Linked DNA regions of Homo sapiens: region 1 is linked to region 2. The links are contacts of gene promoters, found by promoter capture Hi-C in human tissues and cell types (Jung and others, 2019). All regions are on one chromosome and are shown on one strand. Each heading gives the region's core, a stretch centred on a gene start or on the middle of the fragment in contact. The rest is flanking DNA. Distances are from core to core; before and after follow the strand shown.

Region 1 (5,787 bases), core at 1,578-4,077, 46 kb after region 2:
GATCGCTGTTCTGAGCCAAGGCACTGCTCACATAAAATTCCCCAATAGCCTCCCACTGGGTTAAGCACAAAGCTAGAGCTTGGACACATGACCCCCACTGTCCTTGCAAAATCAGATTCCAGCTCCAGCCTGTCCCCGCAGGCTCATCTCGAATCCCTCTACACACAAGCTGCAGCCATTTCAGAGCCTTTGAACTCTGCTGAGCTTCTGACGCTCACTGGACCTGGCACTCTCTCCCCCTCTCAGCCTAGCTCTATCCTGCTCGGTTCCAGCATCTCCTCTTCCAAGAAGCCTCCCCTGACCTTCCAGGCTGGGCCTGCTACACCCTCTGTGCTGTGGCTTCTTGTAATTAATCACCTGATTCCAATTTCACCTCCCTCCTGAAGGGAGAATGCTTGGTTCCATGTTGCATCCCCGGGGCCTACTCCAGAGGCTGACTCACGAGGCAGAATACACTGAACAGGAACGGGCTGCAGGGAGGACAGGGCCTTGATGGCAGCCTTAAGACTGAGGCTGACCAGGTCTTAGGAGTTCATGGAAAAGGTCTGGGCTGGAGACAGATGTGGATGGTTAGCACAGACAGTAACAAAAGCCAAGGATGAGAGATCAAGTTTTCACAAGAGGCCGGGCATGGTGGCTCACGCCTGTAACCCCAGCACTTTGGGAGGCCGAGGCAGGGGGATCACTTGAGGTCAGGAGTTCGAGACCAGCCTGGCCAACATGGTAAAACCCTGTCTCTACTAAAAATACAACAATTAGCCAGGTGTGGTGACGGCTGCCTGTAGTCCCAGCTACCCAGGAGGCTGAGGCAGGAGAATCCCTTGAACCTGGGTGGTGGATGTTGCAGTGAGCCGATTGTGCCATTGCATTCCAGACTGGGAGACAGAGTGAGACTCCGTCTCTAAGTAAGTAAATAAATAAGTCTTCACGAGAGAACAGAGGATTGCTGAGGACAGACTCCAGGGAAGCACATCAGAGGGCTGGGAAGAAAATGAGAATTCCACATAGGGGACTAAAGAGGAGCTGGGGTGTAGCTGAAGCAGAAACAGAGGAAAAAGATGGCTGCCAGTGAACCACACCTCCGGCGCTCAGGCCCTGCTGCCGCCTCTCCCATTGGACCTGGGCTGGCTGTGCGACTCATTTTTGACTAAAGTGATGGAAGGGATGCTGCAGCACCTCCAAGCCAAATTCATAAGAAGCTCGTAGGTTCCACTTGGGGCTGTTGAGGCTCCCTTTACTTTTTATTGTTTTTATTTTTTTAGAGATGGGTCTCACTCTGTTGCCCAGGCTGGAGTGCGGTGGCAGCAATCACAGTTCACTGCAACCTCCAACTCGTGGGCTCAAGCAATCATCCTGCCTCAGCCTCCCAAGTAGCTGGGACTCCAGGCACATGCATCACCATGCCTGGCTTTTGTTTTGAGAAGGAGTCTCACTCTGTTCCCTAGGCTGGAGTGCAGTGGCGCAATCTCAGCTCACTGCAACCTCCGCCTCCCAGGTTCAAGTGATTTCCCTGCCTCAGCCTCCTGAGTAGCTGGGATTACAGGTGCATGCCACCATGCCTGGTTAATTTTGTATTTTTAGTAGAGATGGGGTTTCTCCATGTTGATCAGGTTGGTCTCGAACTCCTGACCTCAGGTGATCTGCCTGCCTCGGCCTCCCAAAGTGCTGGGATTACAGGTGTGAGCCACCTCACCCGGGCTGCTTGGCTATTGTTTTTTTGTTTTTTTAATTTCTTGTAGATACGAGGTTTTGCTGTGTTGCCCAGGCTAGTCTCGAACTAACTCTTGGCCTCAAGTGATCCTCCTGCCTCGGGCTCCTGAAGTGCTGGATATACAGTCGTGAGCCACTGTACCTGGCCAGAACTCCTCTTCTAGGGGGAAGTCAACCACAATGTAGGAAGTCAGATTGTCCCAAGTCCACTATGCTGTAAGGAGCCCAAGCTAGCCCCGTGAAGTGGCCATGTGGAGAAAGATGTCCAGGCCGGGCACGGTGGCTCACGCCTGTAATCCCAGCACTTTGGGAGGCCAAGGTGGGTGGATTACTTGAGGTCAGGAGTTTGAGACCAGCCTGGCTAATGTGGTGAAACCCCATTTCTACTAAAAACATAAATAATTAGCTGGGCGTGGTGGCGGGCACCTGTAATCCCAGCTACTTGGGAGGCTGAGGCAGGAAATCACTTGAAGCCAGGAGGCAGAGGTTGCAGTGAGCCGAGATCACACCACTGCACTCCAGCCTGGGCGGCAGAGCGGGACTTTATCTCAAAAAAAGACACAAAGAGGTTGAGCCAGGTCAACCCACAGGACCATGAATATTTAAAAAGTGGTATTCTAGGCCATTACATATGTGGTTGTTGGCGACACAGCAATAGATAACTGAAACAGTTGGTAATTTAACACCTACACAGTCCTCTGGGGTAGACGTTATTGTTCCCATTTATCAGAAGAGGAAGTAAAGCCCAGAGAGAGATGTGACTCAGTAAGGCTCACCTAGCCAGCTGGAGGCAGCAGGTAGGGTTTGACCTGGCAGGTTCATCTGAAACCAGTTTGTTTTCTTTACAGAGCACATGCCTGGCTGCCTGAAGCAGTTGACCAGAACTTGCAGCCAAACCACGTGGTTTTGGTCAAATTCCCTGCGGCCGCGGTGACAGGGCCATTTCCCAGGTGGCTCATCTGGGAGCCTGCTGGAACCCTGGCTTATTCTTTTGTAAAGCAGGCTTCTTCCCACCCCCTGCACCATTGAGACGTGATTCACACATAGTAAAAATGAACAAATCGTAAGTGCAAGGCGTGGCATTTTTTTTTTTTTTTAAACAAAGTCTCGCTGTGTCATCCAGGCTGGAGTGCAATGGCGCGATCTGGGCTCACTACAACCTCCGCCTCCCGGGTTCAAGCAATTTTCCTGCCTCAGCCTCCCGAGTAGCTGGGATTACAGGCATGCGCCAGCAAGCCCGGCTAATTATTTGTATTTTTAGTAGAGACGGGGTTTCGCCATGTTGGCCAGGCTGGTCTCGGAACTCCTGAGTTCAGGTCATCCACCTACCTTGGCCTCCCAAAGTGCTGGGATTATGCCTGGCCGGCATGGTGAATTTTTACATCTGTATGTACCCACGTGACCACAACCCAGACCATGATATAGAACATTTCTGGGATCAGAATGTTCCCTTTTGCCCACTGCTGGTCAATGCCCTCAGCTCAGAGGTACCCGCTCTTCTGACCACTATCACCGTGTTTTGTCTGTTCTTGAACCTCACCTAAATAAAATCGTACAGCCTTACACTCTTCTGTGGCTATTTTTGCTCAACATTGTGTCTGAAAGATTCACCAACATTTTTGTGTGTAGCAGTTGTTTTTAAATTGCTGTATTCTAACGTATGAATCGACCACAATTTATTCATTCTACTACTGACACACAGCTGTATTGTTTATTTGCTGATGTGAGTATTACGGTACTCATCCTTTTGTGCATGTAAGGACTCATTTCTCCTGGATGTGTAAGCAAGAGTGGAAATGCTAGGCCATAGGGTAGATGCGTATTTAACTTGATGAGAAGCTGGTCAGTTTCCTGCCGTGGGTGCAACAAAGCACATTTGCACCAGCAGCGCCTGGGAGCTGCTCTTCTCCGTATCCCCACCAGCACTTGGTACTGGCAGACCTTCTCCTCTGAGCTATTCTGATAGTGGGGCAGTGCGATTTCACGGTTTTTAATGAGATGTGGAGCACCTTTCAGAGGCTGGCCTGGTTTTTGTAGCTGCCCTAGGCAGCCCTGAGGAGGGATGGGAGGGGGGTTGGTGAAGAGGATGTTCCTGCAACCCAGGTGTGAGACGGGGGAGCCCTGAGTTAGGTTGAGGCTAGAAGGGAGGCAGAGGATGGGATGGAGAGCTGTCTTGGGGGGACGGTGGGATGGTGAGGATGGACGGCAGAGCTGCCAGTGGCAGGCATCCCATCTCCCAGTGGCTAGGAACACTCCTGATCTCCTAAGGCAAGCAGTGCCGAGACAGGGCAGCACAAGGCCGGAGGATTTGATGGCACGGGGTCCTGGCTCTTTCTTCTTTGCCATTTTTAGCTATTGATGAGGGAAGATGGCGACAGGGCCAGGAGAGAGGTGTCCTCTCCTTGCGCCACCCTCCCCCTTTTTTTTTGAGATGGAGTTTCGCCCTTGTCACACAGGCTGGAGTGCAGTGGCGCGATCTTGGCTCACTGCAACTTCTGCCTCCTGGGTTCAAGTGATTCTCCTGCCTCAGCCTCCTGAGTAGCTGGGATTACAGGTGCTTGGCACCACGTCTGGCTAATTTTTTGTATTTTTAGTAGAGACGGGGTTTCACCATGTTGGCCAGGCTGGTCTCGAACTCCTGACCTCAAGTGATCCCCCTGCCTTGGCCTCCCAAAGTGCTAGGATAATAGGCAAGAGCCACCGCGCCCGGCCTCTTGTGCCTCTTTTTAAGACCAAGGACACCCTTCCCAGATGACCTCCTCCACCCCACTCCCAAGACTTCCCCTCGCATTTCACTGGCTTGCGTGAACTGCAAGCCTTGTCCATTCCTCAACCAATCCCTGGCAAGGGAATGGGAAACAATCTCTTCCCACTCCACGAGGTCACTCTCCTGTGGCTCTTTGCCTGAACACACCAGGGACGTTTGCTCCTGCTGGTGCCTCCACGTGGGAAGGCCCTTCCTGATTCTTCCATCTGGAAGAGTCATCTTTCAAAGCTGCCTCCAAAGGCAGTCTTCTACCTGCAGGCTGGGTCAGGGTCTCCTCTGGGTTCTCACAGCCTTCCAGGACCCCTACTGGATGTGGCCTGTTTCTGTGGCTCAGAAATGGGACCTCTTCCCAGCCCCATGCAACCATAATCAGCACAGCCAGCCATGGTGAGGACTCCCAGCCCGCTGGACCTGTGCCTGGCAGCCACAACCCTGCCCTCACCCCTGCCCAGGGCTGGGCATGACCTCTGGGAAAAGCCTCAGGAGAGGACTGGGACTGAAAGAAAAACACCCATTTGATGGAGAAGCAAACTGAGGCTCAGTGAGGGGTGTGACTTGCCCAAGGTCATGGTCAGGGCTAGTCTTAGCCCCAGGCCTCTCTCTCAGGCCTGGGCCCTGGGCCCTACTCCAGGGCTCCTCAGACTTTGAAGGTCACGTGAATCACTGGGGCACCCTGTTAAAATGCAGACGCTGGTTCAGTAGGTTGGGGTGGGACTGGACTTGCTATTTCCCACATGCTTCCGCTGCCACTAGCCTGCAAGCCACACTGGGGGCGTCACAGTCTGTACTAAGGGAGACCTTGGATTTTCAGCCCCACCCTCAGAAGCCTAGAGGCCGCTGCTTTAGGAAGGGTGGGGTGTGGGTAGGGTGTGAGTGGGGAAGCCACTTCAAGAAACCCCAATCTCCATTCCTGTTCTGCCAGCCATCTAGGACACCAGAGCTGCTGGAACGTTTTATTAAGTTAAGAGGTTCAGGGAGCAGAAGAGAAACACCTTTTGGGTGGCTCTGGCGGTTCTGCACCCAGCACAGCCTCGAAGGAGGCTGTGGGGCCATGGAGGCCAGCTGCTAGCTCCCTCTGTCCTGAGCCCCATGGTACGGGTCCAAATGGGGCAGGAAGTGTTAGTAGGAGGTAGGGCAGGAAGAGGGTGGCAGGCTCCCGCCTCTCCCCTGTAGAGACACCCCGCCATGGCTGCTGCCTGGGCCTCCGCCAGACCTCTGGGCCAGGGCCACCAGCTCAGAAGCCCAAGCAGAGGGTGGCTGGAGACAGAGGGGGACCAGGGTTGGAGGCACACAGCCACCAGGAATTGCTT
Region 2 (5,828 bases), core at 879-3,378:
TGAGACAGACGGACACAGGCGGAGTCCAGGCGGCAGGGTTTATTCCGGTCCTCGGGCAGCCTCTCCGCCGTGGACGGGTCCCTCCCTGGGCTCCGGGCCCTGGCCGCCACCAGCCAGCAGCCTCCCGCTAGGCCGGGCGTCTCCGGGGCAGCCGGGTGGGCCCGAGGACGCGGGGCGGACGCGACGCAAGGCGCGGCGGGCACGGTGGCGGCGTCGGCGGCCGCACGGCCACAGGCGGCGGAAGCGCGCGCGGAAGTGGCGCGAGGCGAGCGCGTAGACGAGCGGGTTGAGGCAGGAGTTGGCGTAGGCCAGGCAGTGTGAGGCCAGGCGGCAGGCGTAGGTGGCCGGGCTGAAGGCGAAGCGGCCGTACCAGAAGCACAGGATGAGCGCGTGGTGCGGACCCCAGCAGAGCGCGTAGAGCGCGGCCACCGCCAGCATGGCGCGCCCCGCGCGGCCCGTCGCCCTCCGCCGCGCCTCGGCCGCCGCCGCGCCCGCGGGACCCACGGCGGCCCACAGGAAGCGCAGCGTGCGCCCGTAGGCCAGGCTCACCACAGCCACGGGCAGCAGGTAGCCGGCAGCGAAGGTGGCCACGTCCAGGGCGCGGCGGCGCGCGTCCTCCCAGGCGGGCACGCAGAGCTCCAGCGCGCCGTAGCGCACGGTGCCGTAGTAGCTGAGGTAGGGCGCCGAGAAGAGCGCCGCCAGCAGCCACACCAGCCCCACTGCGGCGCGGGCGTTACGCGGCGTGCGCAGGGCGCGCGAGCGCAGCGGGTGCCGCACGGCCAGGTACCTGCGGAGGGCGCCTGGTCAGCGGGGCGGGCAGGTGCCCTCCCGCAGGGGCCCGCGCCACGTCCCGCGCCCGGGCCCTGCGGCCCAGTGCGCCTCCTGTGAACCGTGGGGGACGTGGCGGGGATTAAGGGTGTGAACGCGCAAGGTGCTTAGGCCCTTGCACCTAGCAAGGGCCCGATCCCGGTGACTTGTTATTTCTAGGATTATTTTATGGATGCGTCAGATGAGGTCCAGAGAGAAGTGACTTGCCCAGGGTCATCAGCTGGAGTGAGCCTGGATTTGACCCCAAGTTTCAAGCTGTGGAAGCAGATGTGTGCACAGCTTGGCCAGGTGTGGGCAGTTAGAAAATAGCTGGGCTGGGCGCGGTGGCTCACGCCTGTAATCCCAGCACTTGGGAGGCCGAGGCGGGCGGATCACTTGAGGTCAGGGGTTCGAGACCAGCCTGTCCAACATGGCAAAACCCCGTTTCTACTAAAAATACAAAAAATTAGCCAGGTGTGGTGGCCTGTAATCCCAGCTACTCAGGAGGCTGTGGCAGGAGAATCGCTGGAACCCAGGAGGCAGAGGTTGCAGTGAGCCAAGATCCAAAAAAAAAAAACAACAAAACAAAACAAAACAAAAAAACTGATGAACGCATTCGTGAGCTTCTTTTGCGATTCATTTCGCGCTTACAGAGCACTTACTATGTGCCAGACCCTGTGCTGCCACTTGAGACTCAGAGGCGTCCTCTGGAAGTTCACAGTGGAGGAGGGGAAGGGCAGGACAGTCCCCTCAAGCACGCCCTGCAGGTGCCCAGAGGCTGCTTGCGAGGGGTCAGGGAGCTTTTGTTTCCTCCCACCCACCTCCCTTTCTGGTCCCCCACTCTCTCCTTCCTAAGGCCAGTGAGGATCTGTTCAGGACTCCTCCCCCAACCCCCGCCCCCACAGCCCTGCCCAGCCAGGCCCCAGGCACAGCGCACCTGTCCACGGAGACAGCAGCCAGCGTAAAGCTGCTGGCGTACATGGTGAGGTAGATGAGCAGGTGCACGGCCTTGCAGACGAGGGCCCCAAAGAGCCAGGCATCCAGCGTGTAGATGGTGGCCTGGAAGGGCACGCAGCACAGGATGAAGCAGAGGTCAGCCACCGCCAGGTTGAGGATGAACAGGTCCGTGGTGCTGCCAGGCTCCTGCCAGGCACTCGGGCCAGGCTGCAGGAGCACTGCCAGCACCAGCCCATTGCCCACTGTGCCCAGCAGGAAGATTAGGGCAAAGACCACAGGCACTGCCACGGCCCCCACACTCCCTGGGCTGTCCAGTGAAATGTTCTGGGCATCAGCCATCTCCCCATCAGACGGGCACCTGGGAAGAGAAGCTGGAATCCTCAGGCAAGAGCCCCCAGTTCTGGTTGCTTGACCCCGGGATCTAACTCCCCCGACCTGGGTCTGGCCAGGTGTTCTGGGCTGGAAGCTCGTGGGAGATGGAGGAGGGGAGAGCAGAGCCAAAGTCATCGCTGAGTGTCACTGTGTGAGCAAGCTCGTGGTGTTCAAGGGGTGAGAGTTCCTCAGTTTCCTAAGGAACACCCCTGGAGTCCTGCCTGGAGGACTACCTAGGTATTTGAGGGACACTTTCAACCCACGAGGCTGGGGAAGGCACAAGCGAAGTAGGATGAAGATATGGCGATGGGGGGAGGGGCCAAACCCAGAAACTGGTATGTTTTCCTTCTCAATGGGGATCTGAAGCTCAGGGGAGACCCTGGGACATGGGTTTAGGGCTTTCTCTGGCTACAAGCTGTAGCCTTAGCAAAACACGGGTAACATCCCTGAGTCATTGGAGGGTCCAGTATAGTGAGATCATCACAATGGCAAAACTGGGAAGACCGTGTAGGTCACTGCTTCCTCTCTGCACATAGGGAAATTGAGGCCCAGAGAGGGGACATGGGAGGATAATATCACACTCGAAATGGCAGCTCTGGGGCTGTTGCCACCCTGGTATCCTGCCTCTTAAGCTAGAGTGCTCATCTGAGAGCTTGTAACAGGTGGTGCCTCTGACAACTTGTGTGTGTGCACACCGCACCCATGCTCACCCCCATCCCACTCTACAGCCCATGTCTCCTACTGCCTGTGGATCTCCTTGCAGGCTTGAGACCACTGGGGTGGTGGGACAAAGTAGGGGAAAGGGGGGTCAGGCAGGGAGTAGGGAAGAAAGGCAATGTCTGCCCCCATCCCAGCACCCAGCATGCAGTAGGTCCCCAAAGCCCAGGATGGGCAACACCCACCTCCGCCTTGGGCAGTGGGCTTGATCCTGGGTGGAATGGCCGGGCTGGGTGGGCCTCCTGATTCAGCGGCTGCCCCTTGGTGCCTCCCTGCAGGTACTGGTCTGCCTTCTACTTCTCCCCCTTTGCCTTTAAGGCCCCTCCTCTCCTCTGCCCCCTCTGCTGAGCCGGAGTTGGGCACTCCCTCTGGAGTAGCCACTGGCCACTTCCTCCTCAGTCCCTGATTTCCCCCAGGTGGCAGGCTCTTCTGCCTGGCTCTTCTCTGCCTCTCTGCGTTGCTGCTGCCTTTTCCTCTCTCTGCAGCCAGTAACCCATTGATCTCGCTCTCTGTGATTTGCTTTGTAGTTAACCCCTCTGTGCCCAGGGCCCAGCCAGTCTCTGGCACTCCCACCTCCTGTGGCCCAGCCTGATGTGACTCCATCCCCTATCCCTGCACCTTCTTGCTCCAATCCATGTTTAGAAAAGGTTCCTAGGCCGGGCATGGTGGCTCACGTCTGTAATCCCAGCACTTTGGGAGGCTGAGGCAGGCAGATCACTTGAGGCCAGGAATTCGAGACCAGCCTGGCCAATGTGGCGAAACCTTGTCTCTACTAAAAATACAAAAATTAACTGAGCGTCGTGGCGGGCGCCTGTAATCCCAGCTACTCTGGAGGCTGAGGCAGGAGAATCGCTTGAACCTGGGAGGTGGAGGTTGCAATGAGCCGAGATGACGCCACTGCACTCCAGCCCAGGTGATGGAGTGAGACATTGTCTCAAAAAAAAAAAAAAAAAAAAAAAGAAGAGGCTGGGCGCGGTGGCTCATGCCTGTAATCCCAGCACTTTGGGAGGCCAAGACAGGTGGATCATGAGGTCAGGAGTTCAAGACCAGCCTGGCCAAGATGATGAAACCCCATGTCTACTAAAAATACAAAAATTAGCTGGGTGTGGTGGCGGGCACCTGTAATCCCAGCTGCTCGGGAGGCTGAGGCAGAGAATTGCTTGAAGCCAGGGGTTGGAGGTTGCAGTGAGCCAAGATCGTGCCACTGCACTCCAGCCTGGGCGACAGAGCGAGATTCCGTCTCAAAAAAAAAAAAAAAAAAAAAAAAAAAAAGGATTCCTAGTCTTGACTGGGGTTTCCTGGAGTGGGAAACCAGGACTTGAGTCTCCTTTCGGCAGACTCCAGAGACTCCTCCCTCAGGCTCTGCAAATCCTGAGATCCTTCTCCGGAAGCTCTTTCCAGAGCCTTAGTCCAGCTGGAGCCCAGATGGTTTAGGTACCTGTCCAAAAAGTCTGGCTTTACCTGATAGCAACGGGGAACTACTAAGATTCTACAGCAGAGACATGACCCGCACATTTTCTTTCTTTCTTTCTTTTTTTCCCCCCACATTATCTTTTGTAAAAAGTTTGTTATGGGCCAGGCGCAGCGGCTCACACCTGTAATCCTAGCACTTTGGGAGGCTGAGGTGGGCGGATCATCTGAGGTCAAGAGTTCGAGACCAGACTGGCCAACATGGCAAAACCCTGCCTCTACTAAAAATACAAAAATTAGCTGGGCATGGTGGCTCACACCTATAATCCCAGCTACTCAGGAGGCTGAGGCACGAGAATCGCTTGAACCTGGGAGGTGGTGGTTGCAGTGAGCCGAGATCGCTCGCACTCCAGACTGGGCAACAGAGCGACTCTGTCTCAAAAAAAAAAAAAAAAAAAAGTCTATTATTGCCCGGGGTGAAAAGGATGGACAGAGTGGGAGAGATTTGATGAGTGACCTGTTAGGAGCCTCTCGTCTAGGCAAGAGCCAAAGAGGAGAATAGGTCTTGGTGAACGGCTGTGTGATTTGGTCATGGAGTTCTGTCCTGAACTGTGTGGAGGAGGGGCCACATGGCCAAATGCCTCCAGAGGGTTAGGGAGGCTAGCACCTGGGGAGCAAGGTACACTGGATTCAGCAATGAGGAGGCTGCTGGTAAACTGGACAGGTGTTTTGAGGGCAAAAGGCAGTCTGCAGTGAGTTAAGGAAGGGAGGGGAGAGGTGGAGGGGCTGAGTGTAGTGTTTTTAGAAGCTGGGGCTGGGGTTGGGGAGCATCAAGGGGAAGTGCGTAAGGGGAGAGAAAACAGTGTGAGGGGCGCTGATGGAGCCAGGACTCGCATCCCAGGCCGGAGGAGCTGGGGTAGATGCTCAGAACTAGCTCCTTAAGGCCAGGCGTGGTGGCTCATGTCTGTAATCCTAGCACTTTGGGAGGCCAAGGCAGTTGGATCACTTGAGGTCAGGAGTTCAAGACCAGCCTGGCCAACATGGTGAAACCCATCTCTACTAAAAATTAGCCAGGTATGGTGGTGCACACCTGTAATCCCAGCTACTTGGGAGACCGAGGCAGGAGAATGGCTTGAGCCCGGGAGGCGGAGGTTGCAGTGAGCGGAGACTGTGCCACTGCACTCCAGCCTGGGCAACAGAGCAAGACTCAAAAAAAAAAAAAAAGAAAAGAAAAGAACCAGCTCCTCAAAGGCCCCGGGGTTTTCACGAGGGCTCAGAGGTGCCTCTATAGAGCCTGATGTCACCTTCTTTAGATGCAGAAATTCCTCAATTTTTGGAAGCAGAGTCTCACGGAATTGAAACTATTAGGAATCTAATCTAGACTTGCCAAACCTGAATTCAGAAGCTTCAGAATTGAATTAATATATATATATATTTTTGAGACAGTCTCGCTCTGTTGCCCAGGCTGGAGTACAGTGGTGCGATCTCAGCTCACTGCAAGTGCAAGCTCCGCCTCCCAGGTTCACGCCATTCTCCCACCTCAGCCTCCCGAGTAGTTGGGACTA

What was found. The method cuts DNA at HindIII sites, captures the fragments that hold promoters and counts their contacts. A contact is called where the count stands out against the background at its distance.
Region 1: a contact is called between a fragment that was not itself captured here and the fragment with the promoter of GALR3 in region 2, in 1 of the 25 tissues and cell types used here (adrenal gland).

The regions. Positions count from the first base shown.
Region 1 is chr22:37,774,139-37,779,925 of GRCh38, reverse strand. TRIOBP (TRIO and F-actin binding protein) reads right to left here. Exons shown (of 24, transcript NM_001039141.3): 24 at 3,370-5,787. Among named protein-coding and RNA genes, the nearest start is that of H1-0, 28 kb to the left of the region's middle. The HindIII fragment of the contact is 9,173 bases long and covers 1-5,787 here.
Region 2 is chr22:37,819,682-37,825,509 of GRCh38, reverse strand. GALR3 (galanin receptor 3) reads right to left here and starts at 2,128. Exons shown (of 2, transcript NM_003614.2): 1 at 1,745-2,128; 2 at 25-787. The coding sequence starts at 2,103. The coding sequence ends at 40. The HindIII fragment of the contact is 28,947 bases long and covers 1-5,828 here.